Regions from separate parts of the Homo sapiens genome. Here region 1 is linked to region 2. The links are contacts of gene promoters, found by promoter capture Hi-C in blood cells and fetal thymus (Javierre and others, 2016). All regions are on one chromosome and are shown on one strand. The core of a region is centred on a gene start or on the middle of the fragment in contact, and the rest is flanking DNA. Distances in the headings are between cores, read along the strand shown. Region 1 holds the start of RFX2 (regulatory factor X2). Region 2 holds the start of SH2D3A (SH2 domain containing 3A).

Region 1 (7,927 bases), core at 526-3,025, 660 kb after region 2:
CACTTGAGGTCAGGAGTTCCAGGCCAGCCTGGCCAACATGGTGAAACCCCGTCTCTACTAAAAATACAAAAATTAGCTGAGCGTGGTGGCGGGCGCCTGTAGTCCCAGCTACTTGAGAGGCTGAGGCAGGAGAATCACTTGAACCCGGGAGACAGAGGTTGCAGTGAGCGAGCCAGATCGCACCACTGCACTCCAGTCTGGGTGACAGAGAGAGACTCTGTCTCAAAAAAAAAAAAAGAAAAAACAAAACAAATAAAAACGGGGATAATGCCTAGCATCTTTCTAAAGATGCGATTGTAAGATTTAATGAGTTTGCATATTTAAAAAATGCTTAGATCACTTTCAGGCACATAGCAATTTAATCAGTGCTCACTAATATGATTTCTTGTTGAATGAATGAGTGGGGCTGAAGCCTAATCTCCTGCCTTTTCTCAGTACAAGTTGTTTTCTCCTATTCTTCCAGCCCCTTGTCTCGAATAACTATATGTTTACCTCTTTATTCTGTTTGCTGTCAATGTTCCCTCACTAGAATAAAAGTTCTATGAGGATCTGTCTGTTTCTGTCCTACTCGTAGCTGAATCTACCAGCTTGAGAGGAGGGCTGGTGAGTTTGGCAAACATTTTCTGTAAAGGACCGTATAGTAAATATCTTAGGCTTCGCGTGGGACATGCCGTCTTTGCGCAACTACTCCACTCCGCCCCTGTAGTGTCAAAGCAGCCTTCCAAGCTGTTCAAGGAAATGGGCGTGGCTATGTTCCAATAAAGCTTTATTTACAAACCCAAGCAGGCAGAATTTGACCCGCAGGCCGCAGTTTGCCAATCTTTAAACTAGTTCAAAATACTGGGCCCAATACAATAAAAGAGAGTCTCCTATCAGGTTCACACCCCACAAAAGCTCCTTTTGATAGTTTCTTTTTTTTTCTTTCTTTCTTTTTTTTTTTTTTGAGACGGAGTCTCGCTCTGTCGCCCAGGCTGGAGTGCAGTGGTGCGATCTCGGCTCACTGCAAGCTCCGCCTCCCAGGTTCGCACCATTCTCCTGCCTCAGCCTCCCAAGTAGCTGGGACTACAGGCGCCTGCCACCACGCCCGGCTAATTTTTTGTATTTTTAGTAGAGACGGGGTTTCACCGTGTTAGTCAGGATGGTCTCGATCTCCTGACTCCGTGATCCACCCGCCTTAGCCTCCCAAAGTGCTGGGATTACAGGCGTGAGCCACCGCGCCCGGCCGATAGTTTCTTTTAACCATGTAAAAAATATATATATATTTAAATTTTCAGCTGGGGGTCCGTGAAAAACAGGCGGCGAGCGAGAGTTTGCTGACCCCTGATCAGACTGTTCCCACATGTCCCACACTCCTCCTGTGGGGTAAACGGAGTCCCTTGGGTCCCCTAAAACTGGACTTTCCCAAAACGCGCCACCAACCCACGGCGCCGCGCGCGCGACCGGTTCGCCAACCCTCTGAGCCGCGCGCGCCTCCCGCCAAGACCCGCCCCTCTTCGCGGCCATTGGCCGAGTCTCGCACTCTTTTTCAAGGGGGAACGCCTCCTCCTTCCGACAGACTCTGCAGACAGCCAATGGAACGCCGTAGGGTCTCGCGCCCCGCCCTCTTGGGGGCCCGTTGGAGGCGAGCGTGGGCGGGCCGTTAGGAAGGTGGGGCGCGGAGCCTGGTAACCGTTGCCGGTAACAACGCCCCGCCCCGTCGGGCGGGCGGGCTGCGCGAGGCTGGCTGGCGGCGGGAGCCGGAGGAGGAGCGGCCGCCGCCGCCACCGCCGCCGCCATAGAGACTGTAGCCGTGGAGACTGTTACTTACCAACGGGGACCAACACGCAGCAGCCGCTGCCGCCGCCGCGGGAGCCGCTGCCCGAACTCCCGGCCCGAACTCCAGGTGACCGATGCGACCGCCCCGGGCCCAGCCCGGCCGGGGAGTGTGGGGGGCGGCGGGGACCCCGTTCGGGGGCCGGGGGGCGGGCAGCACGTCCCCGCCGCTCACCCCAAACGTCCGGGTGGTGCGCCCGCGGGACCCGCCTCCGCCACCCCGTCCGCGCGCGCGGCGGAGTTTGGGGGGACCCTGGCGACGTCCCCACTTTCCTTATTGACTGAACGCGGGGGAGGTGCGGTGCCGTCGCCTCACTTTTTACAAAACTTCCTGAGGTTGGGGCGTCCGGGGACCCCTTTCTCACGCTTACCTTCAAACTCGCTGAGTTGGGGGCGCCCCGGGAACGTCTCTCAAACTCCTCAAACTCCCTGAATTGGGGGCGCTTGGGGACCCTCTTCTCACCTTAACCCCCTAGATCTCTGAGTTGGGGGCACCCAAGGACCCCTCTTTTACTCATACCCTCGAATTTTCTGAATTGGGGGCGCCAGGGGACCCTCTTCTCACGTTTACTCCCCAGATCTCTGAGTTGGGGGCACCCAGGGACCCTTCTTTTACTCAAACCCTCGAATTCTCTGAATTGGGGGCGCTTGGGGACCCTCTCCTCACTTTTACTCCCCAGATCTCTGAGATGGGGACACCCGGGGACCCCTCTTTTACTCATACCCTCAAACTCCCTGAATTGGGGCCACCTGGGGCCCTCTTCTTACTTTACTCCCCAAACCTCCGAAATTGGGGTGACCCCAGAGCCCTTCTGTCACTCTTAGTCGCAAACTTCTTGCATCGGGGGGACCTCGAAGACTCCCTTCTCATTTTTACCCCAAATTCCTAGATCTGACTTGTCCCGGGGACCCCCTTTTTAATGGACTCCCAGACATACTGAATTTGGGGGCACCCCTGGAACCTTTTTCTCATTCCTTAACTAAAAGCTGGTGCGTCTGCCCTGGGGAGAACCCCTCTTGCCCTTCTCACCTTTTCATCCCAAACTCCCCGAGCGAGCTTCCCCGGGAACTGTTTCTCACCTTTTTGCCCCAAATCCTCGCGTTCAGGTCGCCTCGGACACCCCCTCCCCTTCTCCCTGTGACCCCATATTCCTGAGTATAGGGGTTCGTGCGTCCGCCAGTCTTTCCACGTGCCCCCAAGATGCCCCTCCGCACGTCCGCAGCTCTCCTCTTAGGACTGATCTGGAAGGGAGAAAAGTTTCACCAACGCGAGTGAAACTTTTTTTTTTTTTCAATTTATTTATTTTGTTAAAGAACCTAAACTGCTCCAGGCATTTTCTCCGAGGTAGTGCGAGTGCGTGTGTGTGTTTGTGGATTTAAACTCCACCCCCTGCCCCCACCGCCCACCAGCGCGCTCGCGGGCGCACACACACACTCACACACACACACTCACTCACACCCCAAATGCTCATTTCTTTCTTTTTCCTCCCTCCGAGAAGCCTCCGCGCTCCCTCGCCACCAGCCTCCGGCTCCGTTCCTTTTGGTTTTCCTCGCTGCACCGCTGGGAAAGTTGGATTTCCCGATCCTAGTGGCTATTTCAAGGGCCCCCGAGGGCCCCAAGCGCCCGGGCCATTCTGGCGGCTGCCGGCGCGGTTCATCTTCCTATTTTAACCTCCTGGTTGTGCGGCAAGAATGGGGAGGGGAGAGGGCAAGATGGAGCTCGGGACCCAGGGCTGGCTGCCTTACCCCCGCCCCCCCAGGCTTCATTCCTACTTTGGGGTGTTGTTAGCATTGTGCCTCCCTGCAATTATTTTCCTGCTTTGTATCATAAATGACCAGCGCAGGCTTCGATGAGTTCTTTTCCCTCTCAGTCAGCTTCATCTCTGTATCAAACCTTGTACAAGCTTCATTCTCTGTTTCAACTAAGAGTTCCCCAACAAAGTAACAGTAATAATAATAATGACACAAAACAACAAAGACTTTTTAAAAAAATTTTTGCCTGTACATATTGTTGACATGTATTTTATCTTTTTACATCGTGCCCTGAAACATTGTTTGCTTATGGAAAGATCCTTACCTCCCGTCCTTCTGGATAAGGAGGAGGGGGGCATCTGTGCTTTCTCCTGCTCTAGTTTAAAGACTTGAACTGACTCTAAAATAACCTTAGAAACGACAACTCACCTACTCTGACCAGAGAAGTAAGAGTTTATGGTAACCTCCCTAGGAAAAGAATTTAAGTTCTTGAATTACTAGGGCTTCTTCATCAACAGGCGTGGTACGGAAGGCAACTTATAATGTATGATGGGAAAGATCACTGTTCTGTGATTCTGTGACAGTTCAACGGACTTGGGTTGGGAATGAGTTCTGAAATAGTTTGCTCCTGCAGGAAAAGCAATACTGAAATATTTTAGTTTTTTAAGTTCTTTCTTATAAACCACTGAATCTGAGAAGAGAGAGACAGTTATTACCTCAATAACAGGACAAGTTCTTTGAAATCACTTGATCTTTGCTTTCTGCGTGAAGGGCACGCATTACCTTAATGTATGTGTGATGTATATTTAAATACAACAATATAATATAATGTGTATGTGATGTATATTTAAATGTAAATACTCATCTTTTAACATTGTTTATCATTGAAGTACTGCTAAGGATGGTTCTGTCCACCAGAAATGCAGGTGCTGGGGAATTGTTTATCTGGGTCTTATTCCTTAGATCTAATTGTTTAGTTTTACATTAGCATTATAATTAATAAAAATATTAAATTGGCTTAACTTTAATATTATAATCGAGTCAAAATTTTAAATGCACCTGTGGATTTTTTTTTTTTTTTTTTTTTTTTTTTTGAGACAGGGTCTCACTCTGTCACCCAGACTGGAGTGCAGTGGCAAGATCTCAGCTCACCTTAACATGCACCTCCCAGGCTCAAGGGATTCACCTGTCTCAGCCTCCTGAATAGCTGGGATTACAGGCATGCACCCCCACACCCGGCTAATTTTTGTATTTTTAGTAGGGATGGGGTTTCACTATGTTGGCCAGGCTAGTCTCAAACTCTTGACCTCAAATGATCCAACCGCCTTGGCCTCCCAAAGTGCTGGGATTACAGGCGTAAGCCACCAAACCCGGCCCCTGCACCTGTGGATTTTTGTTTGTTTGTTTGTTTGTTTGAGACAGAGTCTTGCTCTGTCTCCCAGGCTGGAGTGCAGTGGCACCATCTCGGCTCACTGCAAGCTCCACCCCCGAGGTTTACACCATTCTCCTGCCTCAGCCTCCCGAATAGCTGGGACTACAGGCGCCTGCCACCACGCCCGGCTAATTTTTCGTATTTTTTAGTAGAGACGGGGTTTCACTGTGTTAGCCAGGATGGTCTCGATCTCCTGACCATGTGATCCGCCCACCTTGGCCTCCCAAAGTGCTGGGATTATAGGCGTGAGCCACCGCGCCCGGCCGGCACCTGTGGATTTTTATAGTAGCTAGTGATTGTTTTGCTCATAAAATGCTGGGGCCAGAAGGAACCACATCTTATAATATATATTTGTTTCTAAAGTTGACATCTATTTATTAAATATTTAAATATTTTTAAAATATATATTGAAATATTAAAACATGTATATATAATATATACTTATATATTTAAATATAATAAAATTTAAATATAAATATATGTTAAATATAAAACAAATATATTTAAATATTTACAAACATTTAAACAGTATACCCCCATAGGTACCCACTTACTTGTAAAATAGGAAACTTTTGAAAAACCAAGGGAAGTTCTCATCTTGCTTGTCAGGACACTCACTAAACTGCAGGGGAGGAGAATGCGAGTCTGTGGGCCTGTCTCTGAAACTATGGGTCCAGGGCATTCCCACTAAACACAGCCGTATTTCTGAACTGAACTATATGAATATTCACCCGAAGTGGGGAAGAGAAGGACCATAAGTAACTTCATGTCAATTCAGGCCAGCTTTTGTCACCAAGTGAGTCCATGCCAAATTTACAAAAAAATTGCCAGTTTTCAGAGTTTCCTGGATTTCAGTATTGTTGTAAGGGGTTGTGGGCTTATGTATTTTTTAAAAAGATGTTTTGACTCCGTCTCTAGAATTTAAATGGCAATTAGCTCCTCTGCTGGTCATGTTCTCATGTTCTCTCATGTAGACATATGCCTGGTGTAGTGAAAGGTCTTATTTTGTTGGATGGATGGATGGATGGATGGATGGATGGATGGATGGGCAGGCCGATGGAATATACACTGGGAATTAGAGAAAAAACTGAAAACCACCTACTTGCTTCTTGGAAACTCTAAGATCAGCAAAAGGATTCTCCCAGGAAAAAAAATATAGGGGAAGACCCAGAATGAAGTGGGCGAAAGGGATAAGGGTAGGTGAAGGAGGAGTGGCAAAAGGTCCAGAGAGAGGCCCTAACAGGCCTATAGGGAACTGGAGCCTGGGAAGCTCTGGACTGGCTTAGGATTCTAAGCTCTTCTCTGCAGAAAACATCTATCCAGCTGCCTGCTGGGTACATCCAGGTGGATTCTGACAGGCACCTTAAACTTAAGGTGGCCAAGCTGAGCCTGTCATAGTCCCCCCAGATCTACTCCTCCCAAAGCACCCCCCAAACTCGTTGGTACATATCAACTCACTTCTTCCCATTACTCAGGCCAAACCTCAGGACTGTCCTTGACTCCTCTCTCCCAAGCCATCAGCAAATCCTGTTGACTCCACCTTCAGTAGTTCCCCAGAACCTGACCATGCCTCGCCACCTCCACTGCCAGCCCCTCTGGTCCCAGCCACCAGCATCTAGCCCGGATGATTCCACCACTGGTGCTCGGCAGTCTCTCAGCCCAGCAGCCAGACGGGGCCTGTTAACCCTGGGAGAGGCGGCGTCATGTTAAGTTCTACTTCATACCCCTCAGCTCGAAACCCTCCGATGGCTCCCATCTCATCTGCAGCAAAAGCCAAAGTCACCCCTAACTCCACTCCCCGCCAAGCCTAATACCTCTTTGACCTCATCGCCAAGCTAGATGCCTTCCCTCACTGCACTTCCACCCTGCTGGCCTCTGGAAGCTCATTCCAGCTCTGCCTGGAAAGCTCTTTGCCCAGGTATTTGGAGGGCTGGCTCTCCGACTTTCTTCAGGCCTTTTCTCAGATGTCACCAGGCCACCCACTTGAGAATGGGTGCTCTCAGCCTCCTTCCCTGCTTTCTCTGTCTCCTTAGCATTTATTCCTATATAACACACCATAAGTTATACGTATTTATTGTATTATCACTGTCCTCTTGTTAGAATGTCAGCTCAGTAAGGGCAGGAACTTCTGTTTTATTAACTTCTTTTTTTTTTTTTTTTGTGAGACGGAGTCTCACTCTGTCACCAGGCTGGAGTGTAGTGGTGCAATCTCGGCTCACTGCAACCTCTGACACCCAGGTTCAAGCAATTTTTCTGCCTCAGCCTCCTGAGTAGCTGGGATTACAGGCACGTGCCACAACGCTCAGCTAATTGTTGTATTTTTAGTAGAGACAGGGTTTCACCATGCTGGCCAAGATGGTCTCGATCTCCTGACCTCATGATCTGCCCACCTCGGCCTCCCAAAGTGCTGGGATTACAGGCATGAGCTGTTTTATTAACTTCTATATCCCCAGGGCTGAGAAGAATTTTGGTGCTGAGTAGGCAATTGAGAAATATTTGTGAAATGAATAAACAAATGGTTTCCTTGACACTTATGGGGAAAGCATATGTAGAAATGAAGAGTTGAGAGCTGCATTGGGTGTGGTGGCTCACACCTGCAATCTCAGCTACCTGGGAGGCTAGGGCAGGAGGATCGCTTGAACCCAGGAGTTTGAGACCAGCCTGGGCAACATAGCGACACCCTGCCCTTAAAAATTTTTTTTTTTTTTTTGAGATGGAGTCTCACTCTGTTGCCCAGGCTGGAGTGCAGTGGCACCATCTCAGCTCACTGCAAGCTCCACCTCCCAGGTTCAGGCCATTCTCCTGCCTCAGCCTCCCGAGTAGCTGGGACTACAGGCATCCACCACCACAACTGGCTAATTTTTTGTATTTTTAGTAGAGACGGGGTTTCACCGTGTTAGCCAGGATGGTCTCGATCTCCTGACCTCATGA
Region 2 (7,691 bases), core at 2,149-4,648:
GATCATAGCTCACTGCAGCCTCAAACTCCTGGGCTCAAGTGATCCTCCCGCCTCAGCCTCCCAAGTAGCTGGAACTACAGGCTTGTGCCACTGTGCCTGGCTAATTTTAAATTTTTTTGCAGAGAGGGGCTTTTACTATGTTGCCCAGGCTGGTCTTGAACTCCTGGCCTCAAGCAATCCTCCCACCTCGGCTTCCCAAAGTACTGGGATTACAGACGTGGGCCATGGCACCCGCTCATCATTGTTTCTTTATTGTCTGTTCAAGAATTTATGTTTCTTTGGTTCACTACTGACCCCTCTCTTATGCAGCACCTGACACATAGGCATGCCCCTTAAATACCTGTTGAATGAATAAATAATTGAAAGCTCTATTGACTGCACCTGACATTTATCCCAAATCCATCCCTTTATCACCATGTCCATGGTCACCACCCAAATCCAAGCCACCATCATCCCTCTCCTTATAGACTACAATAGTGTCTTTTTTTTTTTTTTTTTTTGTCTTGCTCTATGGACCAGGCTGGAGTGTAGTGGCGCAATCTCGGCTCATTGCAACCTCTGCCTCCCAGATTCAAGTGATTCTCCTGCCTCAGCCTCCCGAGTAGCTGGGATTATAGGTGTCACCATGCGTGGCTAAATTTTTGTATTTTCAGTAGAGACAGGGTTTCGCCATGTGGCCCAGGCTGGTCTCAAACTCCTGGCCTCAAGTGATCCACCTGCCTCAGCCTCCCAAAGTGCTGGGATTACAGGCACGAGCCACTGTGCCAGGCCCAATAGTGTCTTTCATTAACTCATTCAACAAACATTTACTGGCTTCCCGGCCATTACCTTATCATTAGCTGAAATCATCTTCATGAGATTAGGTCTCTCTGCCCCCATCCCTAGCTTCCACCCCAGTAGAGTGTAAGCAGGCCCTCCCCCGTCCACCTAATACGTGGCCCTCATCATGGAGTTTCTTTTTAAATTATCGTTATTATTATTCTTAGGAGAAAGTTTCACTCTGGTTGCCCAGGCTAGAGTGCAATGGTGCAATCTCTGCCCACAGCAACCTCTGCCTCCCAGGTTCAAGTGATTCTCCTTCCTCAGCCTCCCTAGTAGCCGGGATTACAGGTGCATGCCACCACACACAGCTAATCTGCTCACAGCAACCTCCGCCTCCCAGGTTCAAGTGATTCTCCTTCCTCAGCCTCCCCAGTAGCTGGGATTACAGGTGCATTCCACCACACCCAGCTAATTTTGTATTTAGTGGAGACAGGGTTTCACCATGTTGGTCAGGCTGGTCTGGAACTCCTGACCTCAGGTGATCTGCCCACCTCGGCCTCCCAAAGTGCTGGGCCCTCTTTTTAAATTATTATAACCACGAGGAGGCGCTAGACCCCTTCCCTGAACATGCCCCTACCCTCTGACTGTACCAATACCAGACCGGTGAGGGATAAGGAAGAAACTTTCTTCCCCTCTTGAGCCTGGAGTCTCTTCCATATTTGCCAGGGCCAGTCGGGGGAGCCCAGTCTGGAAATTCCCTGCTTTGCAACCTACAGGCATCAAAACTTTTCATCCCCAAGCATCGTTGGCCCTCTAGGCCTCAATTTCCTCATCTGTAAAATGGTGGGTGAGTAACTTTCACCGCAAAGCAGCATCGTGGAGAAAGTGGGCATGCGAAGATTGAAAAGGAGGCAGACAGGATAAAGCTCCAGAGCTCCGGGTTTGAATTTCGCCTCTACCACTTACAAGCCAGGTTAACTTGGGCAAATGGTTTAGTTGCCCTGTGCCTCAGTTTCTCCATCTGGAAAATGGAAGTGATGAAAATACTACCTACCACCCTTACAGGGTGGTCTGTTTGAAAATTAAAATAGAGGCCTCATGCCTGTAACCCCAGCACTTTGGGAGGCCGAGGCAGGTGGATCACATGAGGTCAGGAGTTTGAGACCAGTCTGGCCGAGACCCCATCTCTACTAAAAATACAAAAATTAGCCTGTAATCCCAGCTACTCGGGAGTCTACAGCCGGAGAATCGCTTGAACCGGGGAGGTGGAGGTTGCAGTGAGCTGAGACTGCTGCCACTGCACTCCAGTCTGGGCAACGAGAGTGAAACTCCATCTCAAAAAATAAAATAAAATAAAATAAAGGCAAGTTGACAGAACAGCCCTTGTGTACAGTAAGTGCTCAATAAATGTTAGCTGCTGCTACTGCTTTTAAGACTGTGGTTACTGGGGCCAAGCACAGTGGTTCATGCTTGCTTGTAATCTCAGCGCTCTGGGAGGCCAAGGCAGGAAGTTCGCATGAGCCCAGGAGTTCCAGAGCCTGGGCAGCATAGTAAGACGCCACATCTACAAAAAATAAAATAAAATCAGCTGGGTGTGGTGGTGTGCACCTTTAGTCTCAGCTGCTTGGAAGGCTGAAGCGGGAGGATAGCTTAAGCCCAGGAGGTTGAGGCTACAGTGAGCTATGATCACCACTGCACTCCGGCCTGGGCAATATAGCAAGACCCTGTCTCTACAAGACAAGACTGATGTTAATATGAGGAACTCATCAATAAACGTGGCCAAAGAGTCCTCTCTCTTGCACTAGGTCCCTGTCACCTTTTCTCTTGTTCGTCTCCAGGCATCACGATGGAAGTCCCCCCCACCCTTCTTCCCACCTGGGAAACCACCTGAATGATTTGCCTTCCACCTCCACCAAAGTCCCGCCCCGCTCCAGCGTGCTGTCACTGAAGGAAGCTGTCGCGTTTTCCCGGACGTCTCTCCACAAAACCCGCCACCTAAATGGGGCTTCTTTCCGGAAAATCCGGGAGGGCGGTCTGGAGGAAGCGTACCCCTCCTTACGTCACAGCTGCCGCAGCTACCCCAGCCTGGCGTAAGAGCCCGAGGGAGTTGCCCTGCCCTGACCCGGAGCCTTGGCGGGGAGGGGAGAGAGGCACCCCACTCCACCCCGCCCTGGTCCCAAAGGGCCATGGGTGCTTGGGGCCGCCTGGGTGGAAGGGAGGGGCAGGGTTCTAAGGGGCGGGAACGTTGGGATGAAATTTCTTCTATTGCCCTAAGGGGCGGGGCTGAGAAGGAGGTGGCTGCGGGTGGGCGTAGTCATTCGGCGGTGGTCGTGGCTATATACAAGGGGAGGGGCCACTGGCAGGAAAGGATGCGTGGTGCTCCCCTAGTGGGCGGGGTCTATGGAGAAAGCGGTGCGATGCAGAAGGAGGCGTGGCTAGTAGCAAAAAAAATGGTTTTAAGGGGGCGGAGCAAGGGCCTGGGAAGTTAGTTTGAGGCGGGGCCCGCAGGGGGCGGGGTCTGCAGGAGGTGTGGTCAGGTAACTGGGCTGAGTTCCCACTAGGTGTGGTCTGGGAAGGCTGGGGCGGTGGCAAGGTGGAGGGCGGGGGTGACAGCAGCCCGGAGCCGCGGAGCCTCAGCTTCCGCCTGGACCCAGCCTCGTGGGAGCCCCGCGGGTCCTGCCCAGGTGAGTGGAGCCCCAGGGCAGATCCAGAACCAGGATTATTGGGATGGGGAGTCCTCTCTTTCCAGGTGGGGTCACCGGCTCGCAGGGAGGATCTGGGGTAGAAGAGGTCGCCTCGCGAATGAGAGGGTCGCTGTGCGTTACGCGTGTCGGTGTGCTCGGGCTCACCTGGGCGTGCCTCTCTAAGTGTATTTCCTGTGCAGCACAGAAAGCCATTGTTTCCATTTTTGCCTGAGTGATCCTCTTAAACGGCGAATCAGATCGGGCCCCTCCTTCACTTAAAACCCTTGGGTCATAGAGATTAAAATTCAAAGTCCACTAGTTTTTGCCTAGTCTCTCCTCCTGATCTCTCCAACCTCATTGCCCTCCTATCTACTCCTTCCTCATCGTATTCCGGCTACACCAGCCGCCTTGATGATGTAAAATGTAAAAAGCAAGTCCATCTCAGCTCCAGGCCTTTACCCTTACTGTACCCCTCACCCAGGCGACTCCTCCAAATCTTTGCCTAACTGCCTCCTTCTGTACTGAGGTCTCAGTTCCAATGTCACTTTATAGGAGAGGCTGTCCTGTCCAGCCTCCTCTATCACATCTCCCTGGCTTATCACTTTCATTGATAACTCTTAGAAATGGTCTGTCTTCTCCATTCATCTTGTGCTCGTTTGCAGTCTGTCTTGCGCAGCCGACTGCAAGCTCTGGAGGGCAGGGTGGTGCCGAGCTTTAATCTCCTTAGTCACTGTATCTCTAGGTCCTAGAACAGAGCCTGGTGCACAGCAAGTGCTCCAGCAATGGTCGTCCAACGTCAAAAGCGAGTCCTGCCTACATCTGTGTTTGTGTTGCCTGTGCTGGTGGTTCCCACCCTCCACGTCCTCCCCACACGTGGACACATGTTTATGATCCAACTGGAACATGAATAATCCCCTCTCTCCTCTCTCTATGCTTGGTCTGATTCCTGATTCTGCCCGTTTCTTCTCTTCCGTGCCCGAATAAATGATCCCAAAGGACTCAGAGGCAGGAGATGGCTTAGTTGGCCTTTGGCTGACCTATGGCCACCCTGTGTCCTCAAACTAACCAGAACCTTGCCATTGACTCAACTTCACTCTCACTAAGGGAGACACAAGACAGGAACTTGGGGTTGGGAAACTCTGCGACCGAGGCTAGCCCTGGTCCAGGTGACAAACAGGAAGTGCGCAGGCATTGCAAAGACACACCTGGCTTCAGGTATGCGGCACTGGCAGCTGGCTCCCTGCCCAGCGCTCCTCCCCTAAAGCCACCTAGGGCTGGTCTGGGAACTTCCTGCTGACTCAGGAGGCAGGAATTTCTCTGCAGACCCCACCAGAAGACTTTGCAGGGCTGCAGGGAGAGCTTGCAGGAGAGTAAGAAGCAGATTATCTTCTTCTGGACCATCCAGAGAAATCTCCCCCACCAGACACCTGAGACACACTGGCCCTGAGGCCTGTGAGATTATCGGGAAACTACCAAAATGTCTGAGATCCAAATTCAATCATCATGATAACCACATGTATGGGCTCCGAAATAGAAGGATCTGCAAAGGCAACATTGCTGTTTGCTGACATTGCTACAAAATGTGACCTTTTAAAAATCTTAACCCTGGGGTTACATTCTTTTTTTTTTTTTTTTTTTTGAGACGGAGTCTTGCTCTGTCACCCAGGCTGGAGTGCAGTGGTGTGATCTCGGTTCACTGCAGGGTCTGCCTCCTGGATTCAAGCGATTCTCTCTCCTCAGCCTCCTGAGTAGCTGGGACTACAGGCACACGCCACCATGCCTGGCTAATTTTTGTATTTTTAGTAGAGACGGGGTTTCACTGTGTTGACCAGGCTGGTCTCAAACTCCTGACCTCAGATGATCCACCCACCTCTGCCTCCCAAAGTGCTAGGATTACAAGAGTGAGCCACCGCGCCTGGCCCCCAGCGTTGCATTCTAAAGCAAAGAATAGGGGTTAGATCTGCACCTATCCTGAGAACCTCTGAGTGTGCGCATAGGTTGCCGAGAAGCCATGGATGTTTGTAAGTTAAATTCCCCCTGACTGGGATGTTTTTTCACCCAGAGTCACCTGGCACACTCCCCAGAATTCCTTCCAGACTTTACTCAATGAGACCTTTCCTGGTCACATGATCAAAAATGTTCACCCAGCCTGGGCAACGTGGCAAGACCCAATCTCTACATATATATTTAAAAATTAGCCAGGCACAGCCAGACGCAGTGGCTCATGCTGGTAATCCCAGTGCTTTGGGAGGCTGAGGAGGGTGGATCACCTGAGGTCAGGAGTTCGAGACCAGCCTGGCCAACATGGAGAAACCCCATCTCTATTAAAAATATTTTAAAAATTAGCCAGGCATGGTGGCACACACCTGTAGTCCCAGCTACTGAGGAGGCCGATGCACGAGAATTGCTTGAAACCAGCAGGCGGAAGTTGCAATGAACTGAGATCATGCCACTGCACTCCAGCCTGGGCAACAGAGTGAGACTTGATCTCAAAAAAAAAAAAAAAAAAAAAAATTAGCCAGGTACAGTGGCCCACGCTCATAGTCCCAGCTACTCAGAAGGATGAGGTGGGAGAATCACTTGAGCCCAGGAGGTCAAGGCCGCAATGAGCTGTGATTGCACCACTGCAGTCCAGCCTGGGCAATAAAGCAAGACTCTGTCTCAAAAAAAAAAGAGTGTTCACCCTAGCACCTGTACTTTCATTATATCCCATCCATGGTTTAGTTTTTTTGTCTAGCACTCACTCATGTATGCCATCATCTAGTTCTTTTCTGAGGTGCTGCTCCCCAGTAGAATGTCAGCTCCCAAGGACAGAGATTTCCATCTGTTTTGTTCAATGCTATGTCTCTAGGGCCTAGAACAGAGCCTGGGACCCCATAAGGTGCTGAATAAATAGGGGTTCAGTGAATTCATTAATTACATTTCTGCAAGATGGGGTGGCATGTTGTCATCTTCAGCCATTTTTTTTTTCTTCGATTGCATTATATTTGGAACAGGCACGATGGTGACATCTGTAATCCCAACTACTTGGGAGGCTGAGGCTAGAGGATTCCTTGAGCCCAGGAATTCAAGGCTAAAGTGTGCTATGATCACACCTGTGAATAGCACTGCACTCCAGCCTGGGCAACACATAAGACCTCTCTCTTTAAATGTAAAAAAAAAAGTCTGCGTGCAGTGGCTTATGCCTGTAATCCCAGCACTTTGGGAGGCTGAGGCAGGTGGATCACCTGAGGTCAGGAGTTCAAGACCAGCCTGGCGAACACAGTGAAACCCTGTCTCTACTACAAATATAAAAAAAGAAAAAACATTAGCTGGGTGTGGTGGTGCATGCCTGTAATCCCAGCTACTTGGGAGGCTGAGGCAGGAGAATCGCTTGAATCTGGGAGGCAGAGGTTGCAGTGAGCCAAGATCGCACCATTGCACTCCAGCCTGGGTGATAGAATGAGACTCTGTCTCAAAAAAAAAAAAAAAAAAAAAAAAAGATTTGATGGAGCTGTCTCCAAAATTAAGAAGAGGATGAAAGGAGCTGACCCAGACACTCAAGCAGGGCTAATTATTCCCCTTTTACAGATGTGGAAGACTGAGGCCTGTTGAAAGTGCAGAGCTCAGCCCTGGCACCCTCTGTTCCCAAGAGCTCCATGCAGGTGCCACAGGATGGAGAAGACCTTGCTGGCCAACCTTGGTACCACGGCCTCCTGTCCCGCCAGGTACCACCCACAGCAGGACCTCAGCACCATCTGGTGGGGAGCCTCTCCCACCCTTGCTGAGGATTCCTGGGTCCCTGGATGAGGGACTTAGTGCCAAGGTCTATTGGGACAGGTGGCAGAGGGCTGGGGACTGTCTTGAAGGTTGGCTGGCTGGGGACTGTCACTATATTTAAATTATCACTTTCTTTGGGATGATGAGATTGGTGATGGAGCTTAAGGAGAGTCCTAATGCCCCCAAACTACTCTTGGCTCTGGCCGTCTCTCCCTCTGAACTCCATCTACCTCCTGGTATTTCCCTCTAAATGTGAGGCTCCCAAGCCAGGCATGGTGGCTCACGCCTGTAATCCCAACAGTTTGAAAGGCCGAGGTGGGCGGATCACTTGAAGTCAGGAGTTCAAGACCAGCCTGGCCAACATTGTGAAACCCCATCTCTAATAAAAATACAAAAATTAGCCAGACATGGTGGTATGCGCCTGTAGTCTCAGCTACTTGGGAGGCTGAGGCAGGAGAATCTCTTGAACCCAGGAGGCAGAGGTTG

Evidence for each region. Contacts are between HindIII fragments. The CHiCAGO score rates a contact against its expected background, and 5 or more counts as called.
Region 1: a contact is called between the fragment with the promoter of RFX2 here and the fragment with the promoter of SH2D3A in region 2, in 1 of 17 cell types (naive B cells). The highest score is 5.2, in naive B cells.

Annotation. Positions count from the first base shown.
Region 1 is chr19:6,104,348-6,112,274 of GRCh38, reverse strand. RFX2 (regulatory factor X2) reads left to right here and starts at 1,775. Exons shown (of 18, transcript NM_000635.4): 1 at 1,775-1,882. RefSeq lists a silencer at 1,454-1,913 and an enhancer at 2,761-3,261. The HindIII fragment of the contact is 2,952 bases long and covers 767-3,718 here.
Region 2 is chr19:6,763,142-6,770,832 of GRCh38, reverse strand. SH2D3A (SH2 domain containing 3A) reads left to right here and starts at 3,398. Exons shown (of 10, transcript NM_005490.3): 1 at 3,398-3,446; 2 at 7,017-7,153. The coding sequence starts at 7,085. RefSeq lists a silencer at 2,860-2,919 and an enhancer at 5,008-5,908. The HindIII fragment of the contact is 16,777 bases long and covers 1-7,691 here.